Regions from separate parts of the Homo sapiens genome. Here all the other regions are linked to region 1. The links are contacts of gene promoters, found by promoter capture Hi-C in blood cells and fetal thymus (Javierre and others, 2016). All regions are on one chromosome and are shown on one strand. The core of a region is centred on a gene start or on the middle of the fragment in contact, and the rest is flanking DNA. Distances in the headings are between cores, read along the strand shown.

Region 1 (3,644 bases), core at 306-2,805:
CCTCAGCTTTCCTCCCTGTAAAATGGGGATAACATTACCTAATTCATATAGTTGTTAGAATTAAATGAAATAAAATTCATCAAGTTTCTTGTACAGAATAGATGACTAATGAATGGGATGGGTCTGGAGCACCTGCCTGGGATGGAGCCACTGACTGACTATGAAGGAGCAGAGAGTTCTACGTGCTTCCTAAAAACGCCAGCTTCTAGCAACACCTATGCCAGGGGACATCAGCAAAAAAGTAAACCCAGGGGTGCCAAGAAGCACTTGAGACCAGAGTAAGGATGCCCTCCCCGTCACTGGCACACAGCTAACCATGGAAAAGGACTTCTCTATGACTGCCAGCCACCAAGGAAATTAGGGACACCAGAGGCAAGAAAATTATGTTCAGTTACAAAATACATTCCATTTTATAGCCATTTCTATTATCGGTTGCTACTATAATAAATTACCAAAACTTTAGCAGCTTAAAACACACACTATCATTTAGTTCTATGGGCCAGAAGTCCTATGGGTCTCATAGGACTAAAATCAACGTCTCGGCAGGACAGCGTTCCTTGGTGGCAGCTCTGGGGGTGCATCACTATCTTTGCTCATTCTGGTCTTGACAGTTCCGTGGGACTGTAAGACTGAGGTCCTTGCTGGTTGCTAACTGGGGCCACCCTGAACTCCTAGAAGACATTTGCTCTGTCCTTACATAGAGTCCCTACCTCTCAGAACCAGCCACAGGGCATGGAATCCTTCTCTCATGGCCCTCTCTTTGACTCCAATTCCCCTAGCTGCATTTCTGTCTCTGACTGCACCCAGGGAAGCCTGTCTGCTTTTTAGGATTAGATTAGGCCCATTCGGATAATCCAGGATAATCTCTTTATCTCAAGATCCTTAATGTTAACCACACTTGCAAAATCCTGTTTGCTATTAAGATAACATATTTACAGTTTCTAGGAATGAGAATGTAAACATCTTTGGGTTGGGGGAGTGGGCATCTTTCTGTCTATCAAACTATTCACCAGGCATTTATTTACTATCTTAATGGCCAAGTACAGTGCTATGTGCTGAATTGATGTTGGTATAAGGGGCATGGGGCAGGGGAGAAAGTCTAGGATGGGTGATGCCCCCCACTGGGATATCTGACTTAGAGCTTTGCAGTACTCCAGGGGATGCTGTTGACATAAAATACAATGTAGATTGTAACTCTCACCTCTCACTCCCTTAACCCTCTTGACTCCCCAGTCCTTGCCCCTGACTTATACAGGCTGGAGGTGTCTGAATAAGGTCATTCCAGTTCTCTGGGAGGCAGGAGCTAAGCTCACCAGGGGACTGAGATCCAGGTTCAGCCATAGCAGAAACTGAGAACCCTGCTAGATCCAGGTTCAGCCATAGCAGAAAAAAACAGAGCAAGGTGGGACTTACAGCCATCCAAACAGACGCCTGGAGACAGATGCTGCTCCTGCCCTTAGCCTTGCTTCCTGGCCTGGTTTCATGGTTCCTCCGGGGACTAGAGAGGGAAATGCCCAGGTCCTCTTGGGCCCCTTGTAGCTCCATATCAGAACAGAAAACCTGTCACTAACTGAAGTCCCTTCCGGCTGAGGTACCCCGGCCTATATTTTGCAGCTCCAGGGCTCATCAGAGCCACCAATTTGCTGATGGGTTCTCAACCACAAGGATGGTGAGTCAGCACAGTGGTTGACTCTCAGCAGAGAGGATGCAGCCTTCAGCAGAGCTCCTGGTGGGGCAGCCTCCTGATCAGCCTGTGCTGTGGTCCTGCCCCTGCATTTCTTCCAGTCCTGGACGTCCCTGGCCTGGCTGGCACCCTAGTCGCACACCCAAGAAGCAGTTCAGCTTGCTGAGCACAGTGTTTCCCAAAACTGTGGCATAAGAGGTGAAGGATAGACCAGGGAGGAAGTCTTCAGCCCAGTCTGACAAACACAGGCCAACGTTTGGCCAACAGCAACTCAGGCTCTTTGCTCTAGGCCAAACTTGAAACATTAGTGTGCTGGTAGGTGTTCTGCCTTCCCTCCCTCTGCTCTAGAATTCAGATCTGGAAGCCAGGTCCTGACAGCTGGGATCCAGATGCAGTCCCCATCACAGCATCACATTCTGGCCAACCAGGCTTCCAGTGGCAGGAGCTGCCACCAGGAATGGGCACCAGTCCTCTCTCAGTTAAAAAGCCTTTGCTTCACACCACAAAACCCAAAGTGCCAGCTGTGGTGACAACCACTGCTCCTACCACTTAAAATTTGCTGGCAAGGGAGACTTTTAGAGAATGATTCCCCCACAAATATAGCATTCCTTTTTTTAATCTTTCCTGTACCCCTCTTAGGGCTAAGTTACTGATGATAGCCCTGCGTGATACAGAGCAAGCTGGCAGCAAGGAGGAAAATTGTCAGCAGTGACAAGCTCCAGATGACAGTTATGTGGCTTGGAAGGCAAGTCTTACTCTAAAGAGATCCTGCCCCCATCCCAGCTCTGGATTACTTGGTCTGATAGGTTTTACAGGGTATGACCCCAGTTTTCTGTTTAAGGACATTGGCCTCCAGATATGACTAGGAGGGAGTTTTCCTCTAATATCTTTCCGCAAAGATCACCATGACAATGACCAGAATAATAAATATCTATAATCACATGCAATCTTTAGCTTTAGTAATAGAGTGTGACAGAGAACTCTGCTGCTGCTGCTGCTGCTGCTGCTGCTGCTGCTGATAGTGATGGCGATGATAAGGAAGACACAAGATAATCTGACCTTCCTCAGCCTCTGATGGCTGATTACAGGTAGATGTGGCTTCTGAAGCAAAGTTACATAATTCACCTCTTGTTCCTGATCCACTTTTAGCAAAACTTCCGTGGAAAGGACCTTGTACCTTCTTGAAGTATCCAACATGCTGTCATCTTTATGTTTTCCTACCAAGTTCCCACATTTCTGCCTCAGTGGGTTCTACAGTCTGAACCCCAGAAACAATTTCATAGTTCAAACATCTGGCATGCTATTACATCAAAGGGATTGCAGATTCCCAACCTGGAATGGAAGAATCCTTGACTCCCCGCACCCGCCCCCCAATTCTGCTCTACCTCAAAACTGCCTACATCATCTCAACCACCCAAGTTTTGGGAAACGGGTGAATTCCCTCTTCCTTTTCATTGAGACTAGCCCAGGTCATAGACCCAATCTCTTTACTGGGGACTTAGGCTAATAATTTCGAGTACACAAAATCAATAGCAAAAATAAAGTCCCACGTTGCAGAACATCCTCAACTGAGGAGAGAGCTCATTGGTTGAGAGTGTTTGTAGTATCATGCACTGCCCAGGAATGCAGAGAACACGTAGTTCTGTTAGCTCTTATTGATTGAGAGTGGAAGACAGCTCTTGGAATGTAGGGAAAAACTTCTACGGATGTCATGGAAATAAAGATTCATGTTTTTTAAATAATGGAATCACAATGAATCAGACCAGAGTGACATTAAACTGGATGTCCCTGTCCTTAAAGTTGAAGGTGAGATCCTTTCAGGCAAGCAGGCAATGCTGTCACTGGGAGACTCTCATGAGTTCTGGGAAGACAAGGCTCCCAGTATAGAACATCTGGTAACTTCCCAACTGTTACACTATCTTTTAGGAACCATTAACATAAGTGTCCAGTCATGTCCTGG
Region 2 (3,644 bases), core at 671-3,170, 930 kb before region 1:
CTCTACAGAATGTACAGGGGTAATTAGATATTTCAGATACGTGTCTAGACAGGGCAGAGCTTCAGGAGCACTTGCTCAACCCTGGGAAATGCTACAAGTCACCCATTTGTGACCAGAAAAAGCTCTCTGTGATTAACAAGTTAAATGTGGAGTTAACTGTATGGCACTAGATTTATACCCAAGAGGAAAATCAGATCTGATGAAATTTGTCAGGACTGACCATTTGTCGAACCAGACTAGGCCTAACTTTGCCCAGTGTGGCCTGATTTGAGGGTGCTCAAAGTGATATCTTTCAAATATCTTTCTATCATCCAGCTATGGGGCTTGGATTCTATTCTTAGAATCACCTCTTCAGGTTAAGTCATTCTGATTCAACGAGGCTCCTATAAAATGTGAGTTTGTTCCTTGAGAGAGTTGTACATTGACCTAGATTGCTTAGACTCAGGGACAGTAGTGAGGAAGCACACCTCAGGATTTGATGTGAGGGCAACAGGAAATGAGTAAACATTTGAAATAGAGTTTGCTTCCTGAGGAGGGTGTGCGCAGGCAGAGAGGGCTGAGGGGCAGCCTGAGGAGTAAGAGAAAAACTGACTAATGGGGCACGTGCCCCTGTGCGTGGAACATGGGATGAACCTGGCTTAGCTTCAGCCCTGCGCTTGAAGAGACTCACCTGGTGCCCTGACTGGGATTATTTTAACCAAATGTAAAAGTATCTAGAAGCCAGCCCCTTTCTGGTTACTTTGTGGTTACTGCATACAGTACTTTCTGATGCTGAAGACTTAATAGTGTCAGCCTTGAAGTGTAAACCTTCCGAGGGCGATGATAGATGATAGAGAATCACATGCCAATCTTTACCTCTTGGGTGCCCTCTCCCAGCATCTCATGGCCTCTGTAGCACCCCCTCCCCAGCGCCAGGAATCTACAAGAGTACACATGACAGCTTACTCATTGTGAATTGCTAGTTGTGAGATCGTCCATAAAGCTCCATTCCTGGTATCCAAGAGAGATCTTCAAAAGTAGGGGCCAGTTGAACTTGGAAAGTACAGGCTTCAGTGTACAGCTTCCAAGAGAGGCCATCTGGCTGCTGCTGCTGCTGCCAGCTTCCAGACGGAAGCTGAGATTTGCTATTGATGTTCCAGCATTGATTGAGCTCCTGCCTCGTCTGCATCAGGCATGGTCCTCGCAGCTTCACGCAGGTATTTCATGCTATTGCAAATTGTTGCTTGTTAGTATTCCTCCCAACTAGTTGTTTGGAGTCAGCTAGTTGTTAGTATTTTTACTCTACTGACTAGAAATCTGAGACTTTGAAAGGTTAAGTGATTTGCCCAATACCAAACAGCTGGGGAATGAGAGAGCCGGAATCTAAAGTTAGAAATGTCAGCCTCCCCCTGCTAACTTCTGCTGTTGGTAAGGGTATTTCCTCTCCCTCTGGGGCTTTCTATTGCTTTCAGAGAGAGAGTTTGCAAGCTGAAGGAACACTTAACTTGAGAGGCTTTCCCAAATGGAGTATAAAATGCCACGAGGAAATAACTTAAAGATAGGGTGCTGGAGATGCGTCTAAGATGTGAAGGAATGTCACACATGTGCATGGCTCACCTCGCACCTCATTTTGATTCCTCAGTGGCTTTTAGGGTCTTCTCCTGCCTCACTCCTTTTAGCCCCCTGGCCTGGTCTTACACTCTGCCCATCCAGAATGAAAGCAGGCCTCCTACGTCTTCGCAGTGGACATGCATTGGCACTGAACAACATGCCGTGACCTCTTTTATACCTCATGCTTGTCATTCTTTCTGTTTATCTCGACACTCCAACCTAAGCTGTGACCTTGGCTTTCTCTCCCTGGCTCCAATTCATATTCTCCCTCTAGTGGTGCTGCCTCTGGCTGCCCTAGGTAAATCCTAGGCCTCCAAAGGATTTTCTCCTTTGACTCTTGCCTTCTTGGACAGTACTCTGCTGCTCTCGTCCCAGATATGCCAGTAGAAACCACCTATTAATCCATGAGCCCCAAGGATCCTGAAGCATCACTTTGCCTCCTATCTCCTATGGCGTTGACAGTGTTGGCCATAACCCTGCAGTACCTGCACCCAGCCAGTGCCAGCATGTGAGCCTTGTTGACAGTCTGCAGAGGCTGGTTGGAGCTGCTAACCCTGTGCTTCCAGGCCCACGCTGTTTGGTTTGGTTCGAGTTGCCCTTCAGAGCCCTGCCCAGCCCTGACTTGGAAGCTGTTGCTTATTGTGTCTTAGTGTGGAGCAGTGGGGCCTGAGGCAAAAGTATATTGCTGCTGCTTCATTAGTGAAAGCATCACCAGAGAAACAGAAGTGGGGAACAAGAGAAGTGAAGCAAAGAAAGAGAGTAAATATAAGAGCTGTATCATTGACCTGACTACTGCTTGCTAGCAAGTACAGCTGATTGATCTTGTGGGACATATGCAGAGAGATGCCATGTGGGTGACTTGTGGGACACATGCAGAGAGATGCCATGTGGGTGACTTGTGGGACATATGCAGAGAGATACCATGTGGGTGACTTGTGGGACATATGCAGAGAGCTGCCATGTGGGTGACTGCACTTCAGGGAGTCTTTCTGGGGGAAAGTAACTCCTTCACTGCCTTCCCTCTCCCCTTGGTCAAAGTCTGCCCCAAGGGGCATGAATTCTCTTGCACTTCTGGTTTGTACAAGCCTAGAAGTGGCCAGCTGATCATCCCACACCTTATTAGCAACTCACACCTCATCAGCAATAGACAAGAAATCCTGGGAAGGAGCCAAGAGGGGCTTGCTGTACCCATGGGTGACTTGAGGGGCCATGGCAGTGGCATCAGAAGTGACATCCAGGTCTACACCTGTGAGAGCAGCACAGGCCATGTTAGATCTGCTCAGCCTGGCAGCAGGCAAGTGCTCAGCCCGGCAGCAGGCAAGTGCACAGGTCTGGATGATGGGTAATCTGAATCCAGTCACGTTGAGCAGTGTAATGTCAGTGCAGCCTGGCCGTTTGACTTGTGTATGCTGCTGGGAAACTTCTTGGGCATGTAAGGAAATACTCAGTTTTCTTTTCCAGTTCCCAGGGTTGAGCATCTTTTTGAGGGGTCTCTCTTATATGGGTGGGGCCTAGCTGAGTGTTCTCTGTGATTGGGGTGAGGGGGGAAGGGTCCAGATAGTGCTACACTAGTGAGATGCTTCTCACAATAAGAGGCAGAGGAGCTGCTGGTGATCGTGGCACTGATCAAGTATTAAGGGCTCATGTCTCTGGAAAGCAGAAGTCCTGGTACCTGAAGCCTTGTCTAACTGTATTCATCCATTTTCACACTGCTGTAAAAATACTACGTAATTTATAAAGAAAAGAGGTTTAATTGACTCCCAGTTCCGAATGGCTGGGGAGGCCTTAGGAAACTTAGGATCATGGCGGAAGGCAGAGGCACATCTTACATGGCAGCAGGCAAGAGAGAGAGCACACGGGGGAAACTGTCACTTTTAAAACCATCAGATCTTGTGAGAACTTTCTCACTATCACAAGAACAGCATGGGGGAAACCACCCCTGTGTTCCAATCACCTCCCACTAGATCCCTCCCTCAGCACATGAGGATTACAATTTGAGATAAGATTTGGGTGGGGACACAGAGCCAAACCATATCGCTGACCTACGGGCAGAC
Region 3 (3,644 bases), core at 764-3,263, 910 kb before region 1:
TTTGGCTGTTACATTTCTGTTCTACCTCCTTCTCAGGAAATAGATACACAAGAGTGTGATTCGGATTAGATTTCTGGAAGCAGACAGGAAGAAAATAAGAAAAGCCATTTATTGTTTTCTCTTTCAATAGCAAGTATTACTGATACGTAGTTGTCTTTTCCTTGATGTGCTGAGGTCTGTTCCAACTATTTCAATTGTGCTTCTAAAAGGCAGAGTCAGATAAGGCTTCAAAACTAAAACCAAACTCAGTGACCTTGAAGACCAATTTAAATGGTGGTATTGAAAAATAAGGATTTGCCTATCAGTTGTATTAAAAATTTTCAATGTGAAACACATTATCAATGTTTGTGCTTTAAGCTTCATGGTAACCAGTATTATTTGAATTTTTGAATACAAGGTTCAGTAAATTCAGCATTGTACTCACTAGTTACTGGGGTTTTACGGGACAAATAACTAGCACTCTTCTCTTCCCCACCCAGGTCAGAACCGACTGAGAGAGAGATAGATTCTGACAAATGGAGATCAAGGAGGTTCGCTTTATTGCTAATGAAATGTAGAGGATTGTCATGATCCGGGTGGGCAGCCAGACAGGCTTCCAATGCTATGCCTTTAAAATAAACGTACTCACCCAGTCACTGGCAGAGATGGAAAATCTCAGGCATCATCTGTGGAGACCTGTCCATGTAAAACCAATAGGGTGGAGGAGCGAAGCATGGAGCCTTGGGGAGCAGGGTCAGGTGGGAGCTGGGTGCTGACTCCTGAGGAGGCAGGGGCTGAGCTGAGCATGCCATTTCATCTCCCAAACTTAGCTTCCCACGGACAGTGTGGAGGGTGTGAAGTGAGGCCAGGATGCTTCCACTGCAAGTTCCTCCTTGTGGGAGCATGAGGAGAGTGGGGATTAAGTGTTGTCAGGTCACACTTAACCTCAGAGACAATCCTGAATGTACTGGCACTTCCGAAGCAAAAAGGATCAGGTCTGTGAGTTAGTCTAGTATTTAATCAAATTATCTAATACTGAGTTGCTTTCTAGGTAATCAAAGCAAAAGCCACCTATGCTTGTATAGTATTCTCCCTTCCTACTAAGCATTTGAGCTAATTATTAACAGAAATTCATAAAATAAAGATGAACATGGTATTAGCAAATAACAAACATAGTAAAATAGGGCAAAAACGGACACAAAATCAGTTGTGCAGTAAAAAATGGGGACAGAACTGCACTAATTCTTTAAGAAAAACAAAGTGGAATTTCTCGTTGGACCTGTTGAGTGAACAGTATTCTTGAAAAATTGTATAAGTTAGCAGGGAGGAAGGGATAGGGAGTTATTGGTTAAAGGATACAAAATTATAGCTTTATAGGAGGAATAAGTTCTAATAGTCTATAGCACTGTAGGGTGACTATAGTCAACAATAATATATATTTTCAGATAGCTAGAAGAGAAGGTTTTGAATGTTCTTAACACAGAGAATTGATAAATGAGGTGATGGGTATGCAATTTACCTGATTTGACCACTAGACATTGTATGTATTAAAATATCACTGTGTATCCCATAGATATGTACAATTGTGTGTCAGTTTAAAAGCCTATAGTAAATGCAACAAGAGTCATGTAAGTTTTGTTTTCTTTTTAAAATAATACCCCTAAATGAAAACTATAGTGGCCAACTGTCTTGGATTGCTCAGAAGTGTCCTGGTTTTACCATTGAATGTTCCATGTTCCAGGAAATCCTCAGTCTCTAGCAAACTGGAATGGTTGGTCACTCTAAATTGAAACTGTGAACATAAAACCAAAGAGCAGATTAGTTACTCAAAGGACCAAATTAAGGGAGTCCAAGTAAGTAGCAGAATCCCAAGCTAGAACCTAGATTAGCAGAGGGAGGGTGGCCTACCACCCACCAGTGGGAAGTGGCCTAGTGGTTAGGAACATGGGTTCTGGGTAGGGAAGACCTGGGTTTGAATCCTTGCTCTGCTGCTAGATGGAGATCTTAGGTAAGTTAGTTAATTTCTCTCTCTCTCCTCTACACCTTGGTTTCCTTGTCTATCATATAAGATGGCTTAATACCCTGTAGGGTTGTAATGAGGATCAAATGAGAACATTCAAATAAAATGATTAGCTCTGGGACTGGACTTGGTTGGCTTACATGGCGTTTAACATTGAACATTGTCAGGAGATTTTTCCATAAAAGGCTAGATTTCTGACATTTCTGACAAATCAGCAAGTTCTACCACCACCCACGGGAGCTGAGTAGCAGATGCTCCCCTTAGAAGGCATGTGTATTCTCCAAGAGGACACAGCCCCCACCTAGCCCTCTCTACTTCATGGGCTTGGTCCTTTGGAGACATTGAATTTCCATTCCATGTTGTAAGTCTCCTCTGCTTGTAGTGCAATCCAACCACTGGGAGCTTGTTAGAGATGCAGGGCCCCTAAGGGCCCACCCACAACCTAAGGCATGAGAATTTTCATTTTAATAAGATCCCTGGTGATACTTCCCGGCAATAAAGTTTGAGAAGCCCTGTTACAAACTGCAGAGCATTATTCCTAACCACAGTGAGTATCAAGATCATCTGGGGAGTTTTTTGCTTGTTTGTTTTCTAGCTGTGTCCAAGGACCTATCCAGACTTGCTGAAATCAGAGTTCCTGGGATGGAATGTCCAGGCTGCTAAATTAATGCTAGGGACAGGATTTCACTGTGAACACTTGAGAACTATAGATTTCAGTTTAGATGAAAGAAAGCTAAGTATGTTATCTTATTGGGATCCTCAGATAAAAAAAAAGTTCTACTAATAATGACGACTATATAATCTGAATATACTTGAGGCTGAAATTTTGCCCATTGATTGTAACTTGCTGGATGAGGCCTGGTTGCCGGCAGATTGACTTTTGGTAAGGGTGTTGCAGTGGTTTGAAGTGGGTGTGTGTTGGTATATGTCCTTAGTCATACCACCTGAACAGTTTCAAGGGAACTAGATTGTTTGAGAAAATTTTCTTTGTTATAGTATAGTCTTACTGGTTTGCAGGAGAGCGGTGAGATTCTAGAAACAGTGACCCTATTAGCTGATCTTTTCCATTAAAAATATTTTGGATTGCTCTTAGGGAAGTCCTTAACTCATCATTGCCTTAATAGTTTTCTGTTTGTCTCAAACAGGGTGTGCCTTCAGACCTCATAGTTACTATTTGTTAAATTACTTTTCCAAGGCTACACGTTGCTTCTTCAATGCCCTTAGTGACTTAACCTCCCTTTGTCTAGTCAAACCAATGCTCTTCCAGAGTTTATTTGGTCAAAATATCAGAGATGCCATATTAGAAATTTCTAATGTGAATTCATTTTTTAATATAAAACCTTAGTGTATAGTAAGTTTATATTTGGTTAATTTACATCTTCAATTTACTTTCAACTAATTTTCTTTAATTCTTCTTGAGGTAGACTTTTCATATAAATATTTGCTGTTGATCATTTTCTCTATCATTTTAGCAGTATAAAATGAACAAAGGCATGCTTGAGAGTTTTGATATTTAATTGTAATGTCCTTATCACTTTATCAGTTATTGGAAACTTCTGGTTCTGTTGCTTCATTCAAATTGGGTAAAGTAAAAAGTTACTGAAGATCCGCTATTGTGACTGTAAACTAGGTCTATGGACTAGTG
Region 4 (3,644 bases), core at 674-3,173, 730 kb before region 1:
TGGGTAGTCATTGTCCAAATAGCTGTGCACACATCATCATTTAATTATAGTACTGAAGACAGCTGCACTGGCAAAGTGCAGGGTGTGATGAGAGTGGGTAATGGGGCAACCTGCCCTAGCCGCAGGGGCTGGGGAAAGCTTTCCTGAGGAAGTGGCTGTTAGCAAAAGACTGGGAGAGGGAATAAAAGTTGGCCCGGGAAGAGGAAGTAGAGAGGAAGGACAGAAAATGGTCCAGGCAGAGGCAACAGGACAAGAAAAGGCCCTGGGGCCTTTGAAACCCAGTTCCACTCTTGATCTGCAAACCTTTTTAGGGATACTACAAACTAGTCCCCTTACACTTTTCAAACAAAGAGAGTTCACAGTGCTTTCAGTTGCCCACTTTTATATGCTATCAACAAATTCCTAGCTCCCCCCATTTTCTCCATTTCCTCTGTCCTCAGTCTTCCCCCCACAGTGTTCAGTTACACAAAAGGGCCTACGTGTTTACCAGCCTCTTTCATGACCCTGATCAACAAGCTTTGGTGGAAGACATCTGCGTCTAGACAAAAGATTGGTTAGTCTTTGTGAAAGTAAATGTTCCACGTCTGACTCAACCTGACCAAGAGCCAAGAAAAGGATGATAAGGCTGATGGAAAAGATTTTCTTAATGAATGGCAGTAAAAAACAGCCCAAAGGTGAAGGCAAGAAACAGCCTTGGTGTTTCCTGGGGCTCCTGGCCCCAGACAGGCTCTTGAAAGCACTCAAGGATAAGAGGTAGGAAGGTTATTTCATTTCCTCTCTGCCTCTTTCTATTTTAACACTTTCCTCCCTCTCACGCTAATCTCTATTCCCCACACCTCATGCTCAAAACAGTCACCCTTTAGGTTTTGGGGGGTAAGTATTACCCCTTTCAAGTGGGTTAAAATGTCTGGAATGGAGATTATTAAAGCTAACTTTCCTGGTTATACCTTTTTTTTTTTTTTTTTTAAACTCTTTCAACTTCAGTATCTTGGAAAGTTGAGCCTATCATATCACCAGGAGGATTGAGAGTTTAAACAACAATTACAAATTACGTGGAAAGTTGGAAAAAGAAGAGAGTTCCCTCTATTCTTCCCTGGCATCTCTGGGTGGCTGTTGTCCATGCTGGAGGAGTTGTCACCTTATGTGCCCTTGAGGGACCTCCCCTCAGGAATCAGCAGTGGGATAACCTTGCAGGTGTTTTTTGTTTTTTCCCAGAAATAAGAGACGTAAGCAAGGTTTAAATTCATAGCCAAGTAACATAATTTGCTGTCAAATTTAATGAGAAAAATTTAAAAATTAAAGCCACATCTAATTTTTAAAATACATGATTATGTACTGAGCTCTTTCAACACAGAATCTTACATAGGTCTTCTTTCCTTTTACAATGATCCTTGTAAGGTAAGTCACACAACTGTTTATTTTACAGAAAGGAATCTGAGGCTCAAAGAAATTAAGTCTCTGGCTCAAGATCATAACTAGTAAGTGGCAGAACCGGGATTTGACAGGTGTTTTGATTTTAGGTCCAATGATCTCTTTGTTACACTCACTTCCTCACCTGTGGGCTGTGAGGGACTTTGTTGCTTAAATAAGCTAGGGCTCCAAGAACCCAAGCTTCTAGGATAAATAATAACCCAACCAATGCAGGGTGTCCACTATGATTCACCGTGGCGTCCTTACGTATTTTGGAAGACAGCAGTATTTGAAGGATAAGATTTTTTTTTTTCCTCTAGGATCCTCTAGGAAGGCAACTCAGGTCCTATAAAGAAGCTGCTGATTTTCACCCAGTGGCTGGGAATTTGATGGGTCCCCCTAAGATCTGCAAAGGGATGAAACTGGAACTTATTCTCCAGTTCTATGTCTAGGGTGGGTGGAGATCGATATTTTGGGAGAAAAATGGGAGCATAATGTAGAGGAGAGCCCCTGAAGGTTTGGGTTCCTTGTGCTGAGACCTAACATCCTACAACATCTCCTTTGCAACTGGGAGTGCTTTGGAATGTTTAAAAACACGTGCTTGAGTTGAGCAGTGGAGGCTCAGAGGACACTCTTGCATGAGGTGGAAAGGCTCAAAGTCCTGGCCTTCCTTCTCCTTGTCTCTTGACCTTGCTTCAGGGGGAGAGATGGTGAAGTGGAATGATAATGGATCTTGGGCATCAGACCCAGGTTCAAATTTGTGTTCTACTATTTTTAGGCTGTGTAGTCTGGACTTCAGTTTTCCTATTTGTCAAGTGAAGCTTAATAGTACCTCCTAAGAGGATTTCCCTGGGGATTGCATGAGCGAATAAGGGTTCCACATACTCTATGTCAGAGCCAGTGCTCAAACGTTGGTCCTCACATCCTGCACAGAGGACCTCTTCATATGTGATTATTTGTTTTATTTTACTGTCATTTATTATTTGTTTATCGTGTGCTCCCCCATTAGAATGTAAGCCCTAGAAGGAGTTATATAATATTGTTTGTTGAATAAATGATATTACTTTGAATACATAATACTCTAAGAAGTTCCAGGCACTGTAACAGTTCCAGCAACAGTTCCAGGCACTGTTCCAGTGCCCAGAACATGGTAGATTTGAATAAATAATATTACTGCAATACATGCATATGTCAATGTTAAAGTGGAGAGATAGAAGCACTCAGGAAGCATAAAGAAAATTCAGCCTCTTAAAATCTGGGACACCTTGAAACCATGAGTGGCTCAGAAAGAGCCAGCAGTCTCTGGCTATTGCTGGCTTTGCTGGGCTGCCCCCCTAGAGGCGTGAGGTTAGGATATTGTGTAACGACAAATGACACAGAGGGGACTGTCTGTTCTGGCTTCTTATCTAGAAGCCCTGCACCTCTATAACCCCAGGGCTGTTCTTGGAGCTGTGGCTCAGAGAGTCAGGCTGACAGCACAAGGACAGGGAAAAAGGTCCTATTCTGACATTCAGAGGATCTGTCTTTTCTCTCCTGGGTCTCCAGGACCCTATCCTTCTGAGCTAGATGCACCTACGTTTTGAAAATGAAGATGGGTAGCTGTGCTGAAGCTCTTGTCAGCATGCAATTGAGATACTCTTTGGCCAAAGCAGAAATTGGTTGGAATTCTGGCATCCTTGGCTTAGAAAAGAGCCTGAGCAGGTAGATTTTTCTGCTTGTGTTAGCTTATGAGAAAGCCCAGAGTCTCTGCATGAGCTTCTAAAATGCCTAATACTTCTTACACAATTCAAGTTGGACGGCAAGTGTCAGTGATGCAGCACCTTCAGACAGCATTTCCCAGAAAGTATGCTACAGATACCATGTCTTTGTCAAAGGCGGCGGCACGTGTGCAGCTGTGATGACAAATGCAGCGGGTGTTGCTAGTTGCGGAAACACAGCTAGGGGTTTGGTTAACCACAGGAAAGCTGGGGTGAGGGGCAGTCCCTCCGTTCTTGTATTCTCTCCCTAGATGATTCAGGGTGGTCCCTAGTTCAGCCTCAGACACGAGACCCAGATCACTGCAGGCTGTCTGTTGCCAAGCGACGGGAACCATTTGGCACCAGCCGTAGAGAGCAACCAGAATGGGCAGAGCAGAGACTTAGAGCCCAGAGGACTGGAAGACGCTGCCACAGCCGCACGCACTCTAGCCTGATGCTACAGGTCTGTCACTGATGATACTAAAAGTTACGCGGTTG
Region 5 (3,644 bases), core at 501-3,000, 710 kb after region 1:
AGAAACAAAGAAAATTATGAAACATTGCTGAAATAAATTAAAGAATAAATAAATAGAAAGACATTTTACATTCATGGATTGGGAGACTTAAAATTGCTAAGATGTCAATGTTACCCAAAGTGGTATACAAATTCAGTGCAATGCCTATCAAAATCCCAATGACTTTTTTTTGGGCAGAAATAGAAAAGTTTATCCTAAAATTTACATGGAATCTTAAGAGACGATAAATAGCTAAAATAATATTTAAAAAGAAGATGGGAGGCTTATACTTCCTGATTTCAAAACTTACTAAAAAGCCACAGTCATCAAACCAGAGTGGTGCTGGCATAAAGACAGACACATTGGCCAATGGAACAGAATAGAGAGCCCAAAAATAAATCCTCACATATATAGTCAAATGAGTTTTGATAAGTGTGCCAAGACAATTCACTGGGGGAAAGGTTAGTATTTTCACCATACAGTCCTGGGTAAACTGTATGACCACATTGCAAAAGAATCAATTTTGACCTTTACATAACATCGTATGCAAAAATTAACTCAAAATGGATCAAAAGCCTAAACATAAAATATGACACAGGACAAAGTCTTTATAACACTAGATTTGGCAATTTTTTAGATATAGCACCAAAGGCCTAAGCAACAAAACAAAAACAACAACAAATTGATCTTCATAAAAATTAAAAACTTTTGGCCTCAAAAGACTTAATTGACAGAGTAAAAAGGCAACCCACAAAATGAGAGAAAATATTTGCAAAGTATATGTCTGATAAGGGATTAATATACAGAATATAGAGATAACTCAATAATAACAACTTAATTAAAAATAGGTGAATGACTTGAATAGACATTGCTTCAAAGACGATATAAACAAATGGTCAGTAAGCACATGAAAGGATGCTCAACATCACTAATTATTAGAAAAGTGAAAATAAAAAACATGGTGAGATATCACCTTACACACATTAGGATGACTACTATCAAAAATACAAAAAATGTATGTTGATGAAGGTGTGGAGATATTGGAACTTTTGTGCACTATTGGTCAAAATGTAAAGTGGGGCAGCTACTGTATGGAAAACAGTATGGTGGTTCCTTAAAAAATTCAAAATAGAATTATCATGTGTTTCAACAATTCTCCTTCTGGATATACAGCCAGAATTGAAAGGAAAATCTTGAAGAGATATCTGTACCCCGATGTTCATAGCAGCATTATTCACCATAGCTAAAATGTGGAAGCAACATAAGTGTCCATTAACAGATGAATTATTCAGTCTTAAAAAGAAAGGGAATCTTGTATGCTGCAACATGGATGAAACTTGAAGACATATAAAGTGAAATAAACCAGTCATGAAAAGACCAATACTGTGTAATTCCATTTATATGAGGTACCTAAAGTAGTCAAATTCATAGAAAGTAAATTGGTGTTTTTCAGGGACTGGGAGAAAGAGAAATGGGGAGATATTGTTTAATGGGTACAGAGTATCAGTTTTGCAAGATAAAAAGACCTCTGGAGATGGATGGCAGTGATGGTTACACAAAAGTGTGAATGTACTTAATGCTGCTGAACTGTACACTTAAAAATTATTAAGATGAAAAATTTCGTATGTATTTTTTACCACAATAAAAATGCTTGATTTAAACACACACACACACACACACACACACACACACACACACACACACCATCCCTTACCCCCCTTGGCTCTTTTTTCGCTTCCATCAGAAAGAGTTTTATTCAGTTATATTTCAAATTTGAAAATACTTTTATTGGGGTTTTTCTTTATGGCTTCTAAGCAGAAGCTGAGTAATCACTAGGCTGGTCAGTATGTACATTTCTACATTCATTTAATTTCTATTTGTTGAATGTTCACTATGTGCAAGCCTCTCTTTAAAAATATATTTGAGAGATTGAACTAACTGCCCTTCAAAATCTCTTATAAACCCAAGTTTCTATGATTCTGTGTGTTCTGCCTTCTAGTACTAGTTATCTGTGTAACCCAACTTCTCTAGAACTCAATTGTCTCAGTTGTTTTTTTCTAGTTCCAAAATTCTACAGATTTTCAAAGCATAAGGATGATAATGGCACATTACTTCCTTCACTGGACCATTTATTTCTTGAGTGGAAAGGTTCCAACCAAGATATTAACTCCACAGAGAATAGAGTACAAGTTAATTTTAAAAAAAAAGCTGATATGAAAGAAAAGCTAATATGAATTAGTGAGAAATTGAGTTTCAGAATCTTTTAAAATAAATACACTCTCAAGAACATAACTTGATTTTAGAAAAGATAACAGAGTGTTTTCAATTAACAGGAATGACCAAGGCAAAACGTCCATCTACTTGCATCAGAATGGAGATGCAGATGCAGATAATGAATTAAAGGGACTCAAAGAAGGTCACTATTCTGCCTTGAATTTGTTTTCATGGTTCTCTGAGAAGTGTCTAGAGGTGAGAAAGTCAATTTAACTGATTATTTTCTAAAAATAGAATAAACAGAAAATTTTGTTTAAAAAATATTTTCTTAGCATAGTTAAGTACAACATTTTCTATAGCTATCCACAGTACTTTAAGAAATTTACAATGTACTGCTAGAAATTTGAGTGAAACTTAGGAATTTTATGTGCTTTGGATGAAAGATGACAGCAAAAAATTATACAATTTTAGTTCATTTGCATTAAAATATTCTTACAGCAGAGCATGGAATCCAATAAAACAACCCAGGGAAAATCATTCTAATTTTAGGAGAAAAATTAACACCTACCTACCCTACAACCTCACAATTAAAATCTGGTGGAATTCTATAACCTTCCACATGGTTTGCCTCTTGTGTGGTGGGAAAGTGAGAGGGAGCTTTTATTGACTTCTTTGAGAGAATGAAGAGGAAAGAAGACAACACTGTTGAAGAATCTTCTATAATCTAGATGTCAGAAGAAGCCACCCACTCTTTGATTCTAAGATTGCCTTGCTCCATCCCCCATTCTATGTTCTGTTCTGTTGTTTTTTTTTTTTCCCTGAACATTTCTACAAATACTTTCTTCTAGTATTTGTGGAATACTTCATTCTATAACTAATGGCTATTTGTTTATCTCCAATCCAGCATTGACCTAAAGTTCAGACATGACTCTTTCTTTCTTCCAAAATTCACTTGTAAGAGTAGTTTAGTCCATTTCTCCTGCTATAACAAAATACCATAGACAGGGTGAGTTATAAACAACAGAAATGTCTCACAGTTCTGAAGGGTGGGAAGTCCAAGATCAATGTGCTGGCAGATTTGATGTCTGGTGAGAGCTGCTTTCTGCTTCCAAGAGGGCAGCTTGTTGCTGTGTCCTCACAAGGTGGAAGAGTGGAAAGGCAAAAAAAAAAAAAAAAAAAAAAAAAAAAAGACAAATGTTCTCTGCAGCCTCTTTTTTAAGGACATTAATCACCTCCCAAAGGCCCTGCCTTGTAACTCCATTGCCTTGGTGATAGGTTTCAATATTTGAAGTTTGAAAGTACACATGCATTCAAACCATAACAACCAGTCAACAAGAAGCAACTTGCACAAGCAAATATCTACAACTATGTGTGGCAGATTTTACTGGATATTGAGGTAATCATGTACTCATGTTGCAGCGCTGTTTAGAAAATATTCTAACATTGAATAT
Region 6 (3,644 bases), core at 681-3,180, 690 kb after region 1:
CACCGGAACCACTTGTGCTTTCTACTTAGCCCAGTATGAGCTGTAATGTATTAACTTTGCTCTAAGTTGTTTCCTTTTTACAATTTTTTATTTAATTAATTAATTTATTTTTAGAGACAGCGTCTTACTCTGTCACGTAGGCTAGAGTACAATGGTGTGATCATAGCTCACTGCAGCCTCAAACTCCTGGGCTCAAGGGATCCTCCCCTGACACCTGTCTCAGCCTCTTAAATAGCTTAGACTACAGGTGTGCACCACCATGCCTAGCTTTTTTTTTTTTTTTTTTTTTTTTTTGGTAGAGATGGGGTCTTGCTGTGGTACTCAGGCTGTTCTCAAACACCTGCGCTCAGCTTCCCAAAGAACTGGGATTATAGGCATAAGCCATTGTGCTCAGTCTGGTGTTTCCTTTTTTTTTTTTTTTTTTTCTGTCAAGTACTGTTTTCCAAAAGTTATCTGTCTTTTGGCACCTCCCCAAACAATTGGCACTGTCATTTCCCTTTTAAGGATCCTCTCTCTAGGTGCCCTTAGGAATAAAGGTTGATTAAGACCTACAAGGGCATACTGGTGGCACAAATGAGTAAAATAGACTGGGCATAATGCAATAGGGGTGATGGAAACCATTGTAAAGAAACAGACCTGTACTCTGTTAATAGCTGTTATTTCTGTTTGAGCAATTATTGTCACATGAGAATTCTGTCTAATAGTGACAAATCTTTTTACTCTTCAACAGAAGGGAGAGCAAGACGGCCAAATAGAAGCCTCCAGCAATTATACACCCCCCCAGAGGAACAACAAATTAAGCAATACAAGAAAAGCACCTTCATGAAGTTGAAAACTGAGGTGAACAATCACAATACCTGGTTTTAACTTCACATCACTGGAAGAGGTACTGAAGAGGGTAGGAAAGACAGCTTCGAATCGCCTCCATCACTTCTCCCTTAACCCATTTGGCTCAGAGAGAATCTGTGCACTTTGGGGAGGGTGAATGCAGTAACTGTGCAATTTTACATATGACCTCAGTGTTGTCCTATCACAGTGGAAAGCAACAGAAGGCAGAACTCAGTTGGCACCCACGGAGGGAGCATTTAGGCCAGCCCTAGCCAGAGGAGAATCACTTATCCTGGCTGTTGGAACCTGAGTTCCAACAAGCTTCACCAGCACCACTGTTGGCTAAACTGCTGTGGGGTTCAAAATAAACTTGAAAGGCAGTCTAAGCCACAAGCACTGCAATTCCTGGGCAAATCTCAGTGCGGTGCTTGGCTCAGAGCCAGTGGACTTGGGGCACACATGACCAGATGGGGTGGCCAGGGGAAGGTCACCTCTCCTCCAACCCCAGGCAGCACAGGGAGAAACTTCTTCCTTCTGCTTGAGGAGAAGAGAGGGAAGAGTAAAGAGGACTTTGTCTTGGAACTTGGATATCCACTCAGCCATAGTAGAATGGGGCACCAGGCAGAGTCCTGAGGCCTCTTTTCTAGGCCCTAGCTCACAGATGACATTTCTAGACACACTCTGGGCTAGAAGGAAACCCGCTGTCTTGAAGGGAAGGACTCAGTCCTGGCAGAATTTATCACCTACTGATTAAGGAGCCCTTGGGTCCTGAATAATCAGCAGTAGCAACCAAGCAGTATTCACCTTGGGCCTTGGGTGAGACTCAGAGCCATGCTGGCTTCATGTGTGACCCAGCACATTCCCAGCTGTGGGCCTTACAAAAAGAGACTCCTTTTGCTTAAGGAAAGAAGAGGTAAGAAGAGTAAGGGGACTTGGTTTTGAAGCTTGGGTACCACCAGCTCTACTCAGCGGTGTAGAGCACCAAGTGGGCTCCTGGGGTTCCTGATTCCAGGCCTTGGCTCCTGGACAGCATTTCTCGATCCTTCCTGGGCCACAGAGGAGCCTATTTCCCTGAAAAGAGAATCCCAGGCCTGGTAACATGCACCACAAGCTGACTGAAGAGTCCTTGGGCCTTGAGTGAACATGGTGGTAGCCAGGTACTGTTTGTTGTGGGCCTGGGGCAGTGGTGACCATGGGGAGAGACTCATCTGCTTGAGAAAAGAGGAGGGAAGAGTGAGAAGGACTTTGTCTTAAAGCTTGGGTGCCAGCCCAGCAGTAGTAGAATAAAGCACCAAGTAGATCCCTAAGGTTCTTGACTCCAGGTCCTGGCTCCTGGATGACATCTCTGGACCCACACCCACCATGGGCCAAGGATAACTCACTGCATTGAAAGGAAGGACATGAGCTTGGCTAGATTTACCACCTGCTGGTTACAGAGCCCTTAGGCCTTGATGAACATAGGTGATAGCCAAGCAGTGGTAACTGCGGGCCTTGAGTGAGACCCCAGTGCTGGCTTTGGGTCTGACCCAGCACAATCCCAGTTGTGGTAGCCACAGGAGTGCTTCTGTCACTCCTCCCCTAGCTTCAAGTGGGGAGAGAGTGATGGGAGGAGACAGAGAGAGAGAGAGAGAGAGAGAGACTCTGTTTGGGAGAAAGTCAGGGAAGAGAACAAGGGTCTCTGCTGGATAATCCAGATAATTCTCTCAGGTCTCACTCAAGACATCAAGGAAGTACCTCTACAAGCCTGCAAGAGCCACAGCATCACTGGGCTTAGGGTGCCCCCTAATGCACATGCAACTGCAGTGACCAAAGACTTAGATCACAGTGCCCAAATCTCTTTGAAAAGGGACTCGGAAAGCCTTCCCAAGAAGGATGGGCACAAACAAGCTCAGACTGAGAAGACTATAATAAATACCTAACTCTTCAACATCCAGACACCCACAAACATCTACAAGCATCAAGACTACCCAGAAAATGGCTTCACCAAATGAATGAAATAAGCACCTGTGACCAGTACCAAAGACACAGAGATATGTGACCTTTCAGACAGAGAACTCAAAATAGCTGTTTTGAGGAGTCTCAACAAAATTTGAGATAACACAGAGAGAGAATTCAGAATCCTATCAGATGAAATTAATGAAGAGATTGAAATAATTTTAAAAAAAGAATCAAGCAGAAATTCTGGAGCTGAAAAATACAATTGACATACTAAAGAACACATCAGAGCCTCTTAACAGTAGACTTGATCAAGCAGAAGAATTAGTGAGCTTGAAGACAGGCTATTTGAAAATACACAACCAGAGAAGACAAAAGAAAAAAAAGAATAAAAAAGAATGAAGCATAAATGCAAGATCTAGAAAATAGTCTCAAAAGGGCAAACCTAAAAGTTATTGGCCTTAAAGAGGAAAGAGAGAGAGAGAAAGAGAGAGAGAGATACCAGGGTGGAAAGTATATTTAAAGAGAAAATAACAGAACTTCCCAAACCTAGGGAAAGATATCAATATTTAAGTACAAGAAGGTGATAGAACACCAAGCAGATATAATCCAAATGAGACTACCTCAAGACATTTAATAATCAAGCTCCCAAAGGTCAATGATAAAGAAAGCAGCAAGAGAAAAGAAATAAGTAACATGCAGAAGGAAAAAAAAAAAACCTTTTATCCTAAAGTAGCATACCCTGTGAAAATATCCTTCAAACATGAAGGAGAAATAAAGACTTTCCCAGACAAACAAAAGTTGAGGGATTTCATCAATACTAGACCTGTCCTACAAGAAATGCTAAATCCACTTCCTCAGTCTGAAAGAAAAGGACATTA

The links. The method cuts DNA at HindIII sites, captures the fragments that hold promoters and counts their contacts. A CHiCAGO score of 5 or more calls a contact.
Region 2: a contact is called between a fragment that was not itself captured here and the fragment with the promoter of LINC02694 in region 1, in 1 of 17 cell types (total CD8 T cells). The highest score is 5.7, in total CD8 T cells.
Region 3: a contact is called between a fragment that was not itself captured here and the fragment with the promoter of LINC02694 in region 1, in 1 of 17 cell types (naive CD8 T cells). The highest score is 7.3, in naive CD8 T cells.
Region 4: a fragment that was not itself captured here is called in contact with the fragment with the promoter of LINC02694 in region 1 in 1 of 17 cell types (fetal thymus); the score reaches 6.4 in fetal thymus.
Region 5: a contact is called between a fragment that was not itself captured here and the fragment with the promoter of LINC02694 in region 1, in 4 of 17 cell types (M2 macrophages, M0 macrophages, M1 macrophages and 1 more). The highest score is 11.6, in M2 macrophages.
Region 6: a fragment that was not itself captured here is called in contact with the fragment with the promoter of LINC02694 in region 1 in 4 of 17 cell types (M0 macrophages, M2 macrophages, M1 macrophages and 1 more); the score reaches 10.8 in M0 macrophages.

The regions. Positions count from the first base shown.
Region 1 is chr15:38,694,509-38,698,152 of GRCh38, reverse strand. LINC02694 (long intergenic non-protein coding RNA 2694) reads right to left here and starts at 1,555. Exons shown (of 2, transcript NR_160786.1): 1 at 1,414-1,555; 2 at 1-15. RefSeq lists an enhancer at 1,396-1,445. The HindIII fragment of the contact is 8,690 bases long and covers 1-3,644 here.
Region 2 is chr15:39,626,469-39,630,112 of GRCh38, reverse strand. All of the region lies in intron 10 of FSIP1 (fibrous sheath interacting protein 1), which reads left to right. LOC105370785 (a long non-coding RNA gene) reads right to left here and starts at 1,685. Exons shown (of 3, transcript XR_932156.3): 1 at 1,597-1,685; 2 at 946-1,206. The HindIII fragment of the contact is 5,882 bases long and covers 1-3,644 here.
Region 3 is chr15:39,604,273-39,607,916 of GRCh38, reverse strand. The region is part of intron 11 of FSIP1 (fibrous sheath interacting protein 1); the gene reads left to right. Among named protein-coding and RNA genes, the nearest start is that of THBS1-IT1, 20 kb to the right of the region's middle. The HindIII fragment of the contact is 3,307 bases long and covers 360-3,644 here.
Region 4 is chr15:39,427,063-39,430,706 of GRCh38, reverse strand. No RefSeq gene overlaps it. Among named protein-coding and RNA genes, the nearest start is that of THBS1, 150 kb to the left of the region's middle. The HindIII fragment of the contact is 620 bases long and covers 1,614-2,233 here.
Region 5 is chr15:37,984,420-37,988,063 of GRCh38, reverse strand. It overlaps a transcript of TMCO5A not described here. Among named protein-coding and RNA genes, the nearest start is that of TMCO5A, 52 kb to the right of the region's middle. The HindIII fragment of the contact is 4,251 bases long and covers 1-3,644 here.
Region 6 is chr15:38,002,046-38,005,689 of GRCh38, reverse strand. It overlaps a transcript of TMCO5A not described here. Among named protein-coding and RNA genes, the nearest start is that of LINC02345, 37 kb to the left of the region's middle. The HindIII fragment of the contact is 312 bases long and covers 1,775-2,086 here.